Regions from separate parts of the Homo sapiens genome. Here region 1 is linked to region 2. The links are contacts of gene promoters, found by promoter capture Hi-C in blood cells and fetal thymus (Javierre and others, 2016). All regions are on one chromosome and are shown on one strand. The core of a region is centred on a gene start or on the middle of the fragment in contact, and the rest is flanking DNA. Distances in the headings are between cores, read along the strand shown.

Region 1 (3,503 bases), core at 79-2,578, 230 kb before region 2:
AGCCAGGGCGAGTCTAGCAGTGGGGTCCAGGCCATGTCCCCAGCACCCTCAAGCCTGGGACACACTCAACTTGCACCAAGCTCCAGGAATCTGCAAAATAATGCCAGGTGTATGACTCCTGCGTAAGGACTGACCTCAACAGCCGCTCGGTTGTACACTTTCATCTTACTTTCAAGTCTTAAAGCTTCCGATTCACACTCCAGACATTCCATTTCAATAAGCTTCCCAGGATCCTGCAGATATAAACAGTTTTTGAAAAGATGGAGATCTGTAAGGGAAGCAGCTGTGTACATTCATGAAATTCAAAGGCATTTAAAATATTACTGGGTAGAGGTTTAACAAATACAAGTCACACGATGACACAAAGACACCTATGACGCAGAGGTTTAAGTGAGGAAGCCGTGTTTTCAGCTACACCAACTCCTTGTCTGCCTGCGGGCCCCACCACCTGAGAGCGGCACGGGAGGGTCCTGAGTTTGCCCTTTTCAGGGGCCTTGTCCCGGCCCCCAACACCTGGTACCCAGGCCTCAGCCAGGCTGCTTGGCGGCCCGGGGCTGCGCTGAAGTCTGGGAAGCAATGTGTTGTACGTCACACCGGGAAGAAGGGCACTCTACCTCTCCTTTCTTGGGGGCTTGCTGAGCTCGGGGAAGATGTTCCCAGGCCTCGGTGGCCTTACAAAAGCTGGGGAGCAACGTGTGGCTGTCATCCAAAGACCACTAAACCCACCCCGCTCGAGGGGTGACACCCCTAAACCCGCCCTGGCGTGAGGGGTGCAGGTCTTCTGGACACAGGAGACTCAAGCTCCTAGTCTGTGAGCGCAGGCGCTGATGATGGTGAAGCATCTTCACAACTATCAGACACAGACGTCCCGGGGAGCAGGTCCTCGGCGGCAGACGCCTCCGTCCCGGGGAGCAGGTCCTCGGCGGCAGACGCCTCCGTCCCGGGGAGCAGGTCCTCGGCGGCAGACGCCTCCGTCCCGGGGAGCAGGTCCTCGGCGGCAGACGTCCACAAGCACGGGAAGTACCCGCAGCACCTCGGGATGGCTGCACCGCAGTCCTGCATGTCTGGGCCTCGGTGCCGGCCAGGATGGAGAGCGCAGGAGGCCACCACCCCAGGCTGTGTGCCCCGGCCTGTCCAGCGGCTGCAAGCCTCCATGCCACTAAGGAAGCCATGCCAGGCTTCACAGAGGTCAGAAAAAGCGTTCCGTGCTTCCCACACGTTCACGGATCTTAAAACTCTTTATGTGGTCCCACAAGTCCAGGTGTCTGCCTGGTTAAATCATTTCCACCATTCACTCAGGCAATTGTGAAATGTATTACAGTGGATAGTCTTTAAAAATGCACCAAGGCTTCAAAATTAAAAACTATTCATATCCTTAACATTAGTGAGCTTTTAATTTAAAATAAATCTCGTGAGATCCTGAATGTCTAACAGTAGGCTGGCGGGGATAATGAGCCTCCTGGTAGAATGTTTACCTAGAGAAGGTCGCTTTCGACCAGTGGTCAGGAGGTAACAGGAGGGCTGGGGCCTGAGGGATGGGCAGAGGCCAACCGGGCAAAGGGCCAGGACAGTGTCCTCAAGCCGGGGCAGAGGAACATGCTGTGCAGGGGCCACGGGCGGTGGGGGCAGAGTTGGGCCACAGGAGCCTCCCTAACAGCGACCCCACGTCAGCAGGGGCCCACCCGAGAGCCTCAACCTGGGATACACAAAACATTGCTCTCAGTTCCACAGCAGCCCTTGGAGATGGGTCCTGTTACTGCTGCCATTTTGCAGGGACAAGCCCTGAGGCACAGGGAGCTGAAGGAAGGGCTGCTGGGAAGGAGGAAGTGGGGCCGGACCCAGGCGTTCCATAGTCATTCTGAATTGGGGACACCGTGCCGTGAAAACCCAGAAGATGGAAATGGGGCCCACAGAAGCCGGTAAAGGGCATCAAACACAGGAGCCTCCCACGCTGCTCCCATCCTCCGTGCGGCATGGGCTGCTGTTTCCAGCCTTGACCACGCTTCCCACCTGCACCCTGGTGGGCGGTCCCTCCAAGGGCTGCCTGGCTGTCAAGGCCACGTGAACTGCATCTCCTATTCTGAAACCATTTCCAGATCAGCACAGCCCTCAGCGTGACTGGACGGCTCCCCCCGTGCTGAGCCATGGCCGTGTCTCCTGCGCCACTGATGGTTGGTTTACGTTCACTCTTAGGTAACCTGGGCAAAGCACACAGCAAGTGCTCAATGAAGACAGCACACAGGGAGGCCCCAGCATGTGGCTGTGCATCCGAGGGTCCCCCTTCTTCACTCTCTGTGTGTAAAGCGACACTCAGTTTGCTCAAAACCATCCCTGATAAACTGATCACATTTTCCCTGCTCTGTGGAAGAGCCTGTCACAGTTCCTGAAAGCATCGGCAAACCTGATGTATGCAGTCTTACACACTTGTCGTTGTGTGAAGCTTCTTCTGGAGGGCAATACTCTAACGTGTATTCTTAAAATATTAAAAGTGAAAATTCCCTAGTCATTTCATGTAAATATACTCATCTTAGGGAAAAATCCTAAACGCAGAAAAATGTTTTAGGCACAAAATGTTCACTGCAGCCCTTTATGTAATAAGCAAAAAATTATACGGTAGCCCCCCCTTCTCTGAGAGGATACGTTTCAAGACCCCCCAACCCAGTGGAGGCCTGAAACGTGGAGTAGTCCGAAACCCGATTATACTGTGATTTTTCTAGACGGAAATCCCTACGATAAACTTCAATTTCTAAATTAGGCACAATAAGATATTTATAACAATAACTAATAATAAGATACAATCATAACACTATACTGTAACAGAAGTGATGTGGCTGTGGCCTCTCCCTCAGAATAGCTTAATATTTTCATACTGTAGCTGTCTGCAGGTAACAAACTGCAGAAAGTGAACTGCGGGTAACGAGGCACTGCCGGTGTGATTTACACGTCCAATAATGGGACTGGTGGAGGATGTTCTGGATCATCAGCATCATGAAATTTTACGCCGTCCGTAAATTGGACTCTAGAAACAACTGTGGTGCTGTGGACCCGTGGCCACAAGAAAGGTAAAGAGAAACGGGCAGGTGTAAAATTGCAAACACCATCTAACTGCAACTGTGCAAAACACAGGTAGGAAAGACGGCAATGTGCCAACCACGGACCGAAGCCCTGGGGGCCGTGGCCTGGTGAACTGCTCTTCCTTTCTTTGCCTTTTGTCCAACTGCACGGTGAGCAGCGCCTCATCCCCAGGCAGCAGTGTCATGAAGCCACTTACTTTGCTTTCCATCTTCTTCAGGTCTGAGAGGCAGGCAGAGGAGATCTCCATGCATTTCAAGGTCAAGGAAAAACGCGCCAATTCAAAAAGCAAAAGCATTCTGCAAACAAACAAACCAGCCAGCACCGGCTCAATAGGGGGCACAGGAAACATGGCTGCAGGCGAGAATCCATGTCCCCCGTTCAAGCAGAAGCAGGAAATAAAGGTAGGATAAGAAATAAATAAAATTAAG
Region 2 (3,393 bases), core at 17-2,516:
CCCAGCCCTGCAGCAGAGGGCCCAGGAGCCCAGGGGCTCAGCTCCAATGTCCAGGTCTGAGCACCAGGGTGCAGCGGGATCAGGCTCCTGGAGCAGAGTCTGCCTGCCACTTCCGCCTCCTTCCAAGACAGGGACTGGGGCGCTGCAGGCCCTGTGGGGCCCACAGAGAGAGAGCTCAGGGACAGCTGGCTGAGGCCACCCTCTGTGAGACTCCTCCTCTCCAGCTCCAGCCCACTCCACCTTGGCTTGCTGCCCAAGCTTCCAAACACCCAAGGATGGGGGAGGCTGCACCTGACTGCTGACTCGGTGGACCAGGGTGGGCCCCAGGGTGGGCATTTTCAATAAGGTGGGGCTGCCTGGCTGGACGCAGGGAGTCTGCCCAGCACCTGCCCCACTCCCAGCCTCCGGCTTCAGTGCCCACCTGGCTCCCGGGGAGCTGAGCCCCTGAACTCCCTGCCAGGCCAGAGTGACAGCCCGGGTGACCGACCAGGGGACAGAGTGCTGGGAATTCACGTCCCTGAACACACTGCACCCTCCCACTCTGCGGTCAAAAGCCCTGCTGCTCCTTCAAGCCAGGAGCATGGATTAAGTACCTACTGTGTGCCTGGCCAGCCACACGGACGGGGAGCTGACAGCCGGGCCCTGAAGCCGCCCTCTCTCCTGTGGGAGTTCTGGGGGTGGCCGGGGAAGGTGAGATTCTCCTCCACCCTCCCTGCCTCTTGGCCGAGCTTGGGGCTATCCTGGCTCTTCTGACCGCGGCACTACCGTGGGCCGGGGTCACCCTGGCGCTGAAGAAAGCCCCGGGGGGCCTTTGGGGCAGGAAGAGGTCAAGAGCCCCAGGACCCCCCAGGGTCCCCCAGGACCGGGGAGGGTCGGGTGCCCAGTGGGTCTCTCCGATGCCTCCAGGTGGGGATGAGGCAGCGTTATTGCCCCACCCCCAACATCCCCGGGCCTCCGAAAGACCCTCGCTCAGGAGAGACCCCGGCCCAGCGACCGCCCCGCCCCCCACCCCGGGCCCCGCCCCCCACCCCGGGCCCCGCCCGGCCCTGCCCAACGCCGCTGCAGAGGCCACCCCGGGACTGCGGCAGCCCCGCCCGGCAGCAGCGGGGGTGGGACGGGGGCGGCGGGAGCCGGCGAGGGGGTCTGCCCGTCCGAGCTTTCCTGGGCGCCGGCTCCGCCCCTCGACCCTTGGGGCCCAGGTGGGGCGCAGACCCCGTGGCTCCCCGCGGAGGCCACACGCCTGGCTCCGCCCCCGGTGCCTCCCCCAGGAAGGAGCGACGTTCCCTAGGCGCCGGGTCCGGACAGCGCCGCGCAGCCCCCGCGCACCCCGCGCCCCCCGCGCCCCCCGGGCCCGCCCCGTATCCCTGACCGCGTCCCCTGGAGACACTGCGGCAGCGGCGGGCGGGCGGGGGCGGGCGAGGGCCGGGCGCGTCTCCATGGAGCCAGGGCGCGCGTAGCCGAGCCCAGCCCAGCCCAGCCGGAGGCCCCGGGGGCGGTGCGCGGCGCGGCCGCAGGATGCAGGCCATGGACCCGGCCGCGGCGGATCTTTACGAGGAGGACGGCAAAGACCTGGACTTCTACGACTTCGAGCCGCTGCCCACCCTCCCCGAGGACGAGGTGAGCCCCCGGCCCCACTGGGGGGCCCCTTCCGCCGCCGAGGGGTCCGCGGAGAGCGCCCGGGGGGAGGACCCGGGAGGGGCTGTGAGCTCCCGCCTCCCCAGGCGCCCTCCATGGCCGAGGGGTTCCCACCGCCGTTCTCAGCCCCCGCGTTAGGATTTTCACCCGGAGGGGACAGCACCCCCGAATGCGCACGGGACGGCGGCGGGTGGGCAGCCCCTGCAGAAGTTGGTGCGCGGTAGCTCCTGGTGGAAACCCTGGCGGGACAGTGTGGGGGCAGCAAGGAGGACGGAGGGGGGTCTGCTTACTCCCTGCCGGGCCCCAGGAGGCCAGCGGGGTGCAGAGCAGCAGAGTCCAATCAGGCGCCGCTCAGGAGCTGGGGGATGAGGTCCCCGGAGCTGAGGTTCAGGAGCGGGGGGTGGGGGGAGCGCTGGATGACTGCCCCCCGAGACTGAGAGCTGCTTCCTGCTCTCTGGTTTTCCGGGCCTTCACCCAAGACCCCCCTACCCCGCAAGGTGCAGAGGGGCTCTGCCTGCCATCTGCATACCCTGGCGCTTCTGCTCATGGACCGCCCACCCTACAGCACCGGCTGCCCAGACGCCACCTTGGCTGGGTCTGACCCTGTAGCTCAGCTCTGGCTTGGCTGGGATGGAGTGGACAAGCCAGGCCCGGAAGCATGAGAGGTGGCCCCCAGGGGATACAGCAGCTCCCAGAGGGACCCTCACCCTCCAGGGATCCGAGATCTGCCAAACCTCCAACAGGCAAGAGCCCAGACGCTGGGCGCCTGCGTCTCCGGGTGACAGCGTCGTCACCTGCAGCCATTAGTGGGATGTTGTGGCGCCCTCTCTTTAAAGCCGGCCAAGTAAGCCTGGAGCAGGGAATCCCGGCTGCAGCAGCCGCGGGCCTGACCCCCTCGCAGTCCCCACCTGCTGCCCCAGGGGAGTGGGCTCTGAAGGGACCGGGAGTTTCTGCTGTGGAAGCACCGTCCTTCTGGGAAGGTTCAGCCCCAGGAGGCCCTCGGCCCAGCCACCTAGAAACAGCTGAGGCTGTGCGGGGGTTGGCGATGCCCCCGCCCCCACCATGGCCTGGATTCGGTGCAGTTGAAGGCTGCAGAGAGGAGCAGCCAGGGGAGGCAATAAAGCTTCCAAGATCACCTCGGCTCTGACCGAGAGGGAGGGGCAGCCCGCAGCCTTCAGAAACGCCCCAGGACACATCCCAGGGTATCTGTTAGGAGGCGGCCCTGAGGACGCAGCTCTTCCCACAGCTCCTTCGTGCATCAGAGGCCTGAGCCTTGAGGGCCTCCCCGCTCCGCACACGGAGGCAGCAGCCGGTGCCACGCACACAACACGCCGCGCCAGGCGCGAGCCCACTTGGAGCCACAGGCTGTCTTTCTGCACACTCCCCACTCCCGCTCCCCACCCCCACGCACACACCAGTGTCCTCGGGCCGGCCGGACAGCTCCCGGCCGGCACAGTACTGGGGTGGGTGGCTCCATCCTGTGACGTCCACCAAGGCCTCCAGGTGAACTGTCATCCCACCGAGTTTGCAGCGTGCAGTGGGAACGTTCAGGTGGGCCCTTCGCAGACACTCCTGGAAAGCATCGGGTGGTCCCTGGCCCAACCCTGTGCCCAGTACTGAGCCCAACACACCCCATGTCTCAGAATTCCCCTGGCGTTCAGACTCTGCTTCCCACACGTGTTTGGCTTGGAAGGTTCTGAAATCTCCATCGGGGCACCTGACTTGCATGGGAAAACCGTCCTGGGTGAGGTGAGGGCA

The links. Contacts are between HindIII fragments. The CHiCAGO score rates a contact against its expected background, and 5 or more counts as called.
Region 1: a fragment that was not itself captured here is called in contact with the fragment with the promoter of KNDC1 in region 2 in 2 of 17 cell types (M1 macrophages and M0 macrophages); the score reaches 5.5 in M1 macrophages.

Annotation. Positions count from the first base shown.
Region 1 is chr10:132,926,434-132,929,936 of GRCh38, forward strand. It overlaps CFAP46 (cilia and flagella associated protein 46), which reads right to left. Exons shown (of 58, transcript NM_001200049.3): 9 at 3,272-3,371; 10 at 135-233. Among named protein-coding and RNA genes, the nearest start is that of CFAP46, 14 kb to the right of the region's middle. The HindIII fragment of the contact is 2,219 bases long and covers 220-2,438 here.
Region 2 is chr10:133,158,953-133,162,345 of GRCh38, forward strand. KNDC1 (kinase non-catalytic C-lobe domain containing 1) reads left to right here and starts at 1,267. Exons shown (of 30, transcript NM_152643.8): 1 at 1,267-1,617. The coding sequence starts at 1,516. RefSeq lists enhancers at 1,638-2,227, 2,228-2,818. The HindIII fragment of the contact is 2,500 bases long and covers 257-2,756 here.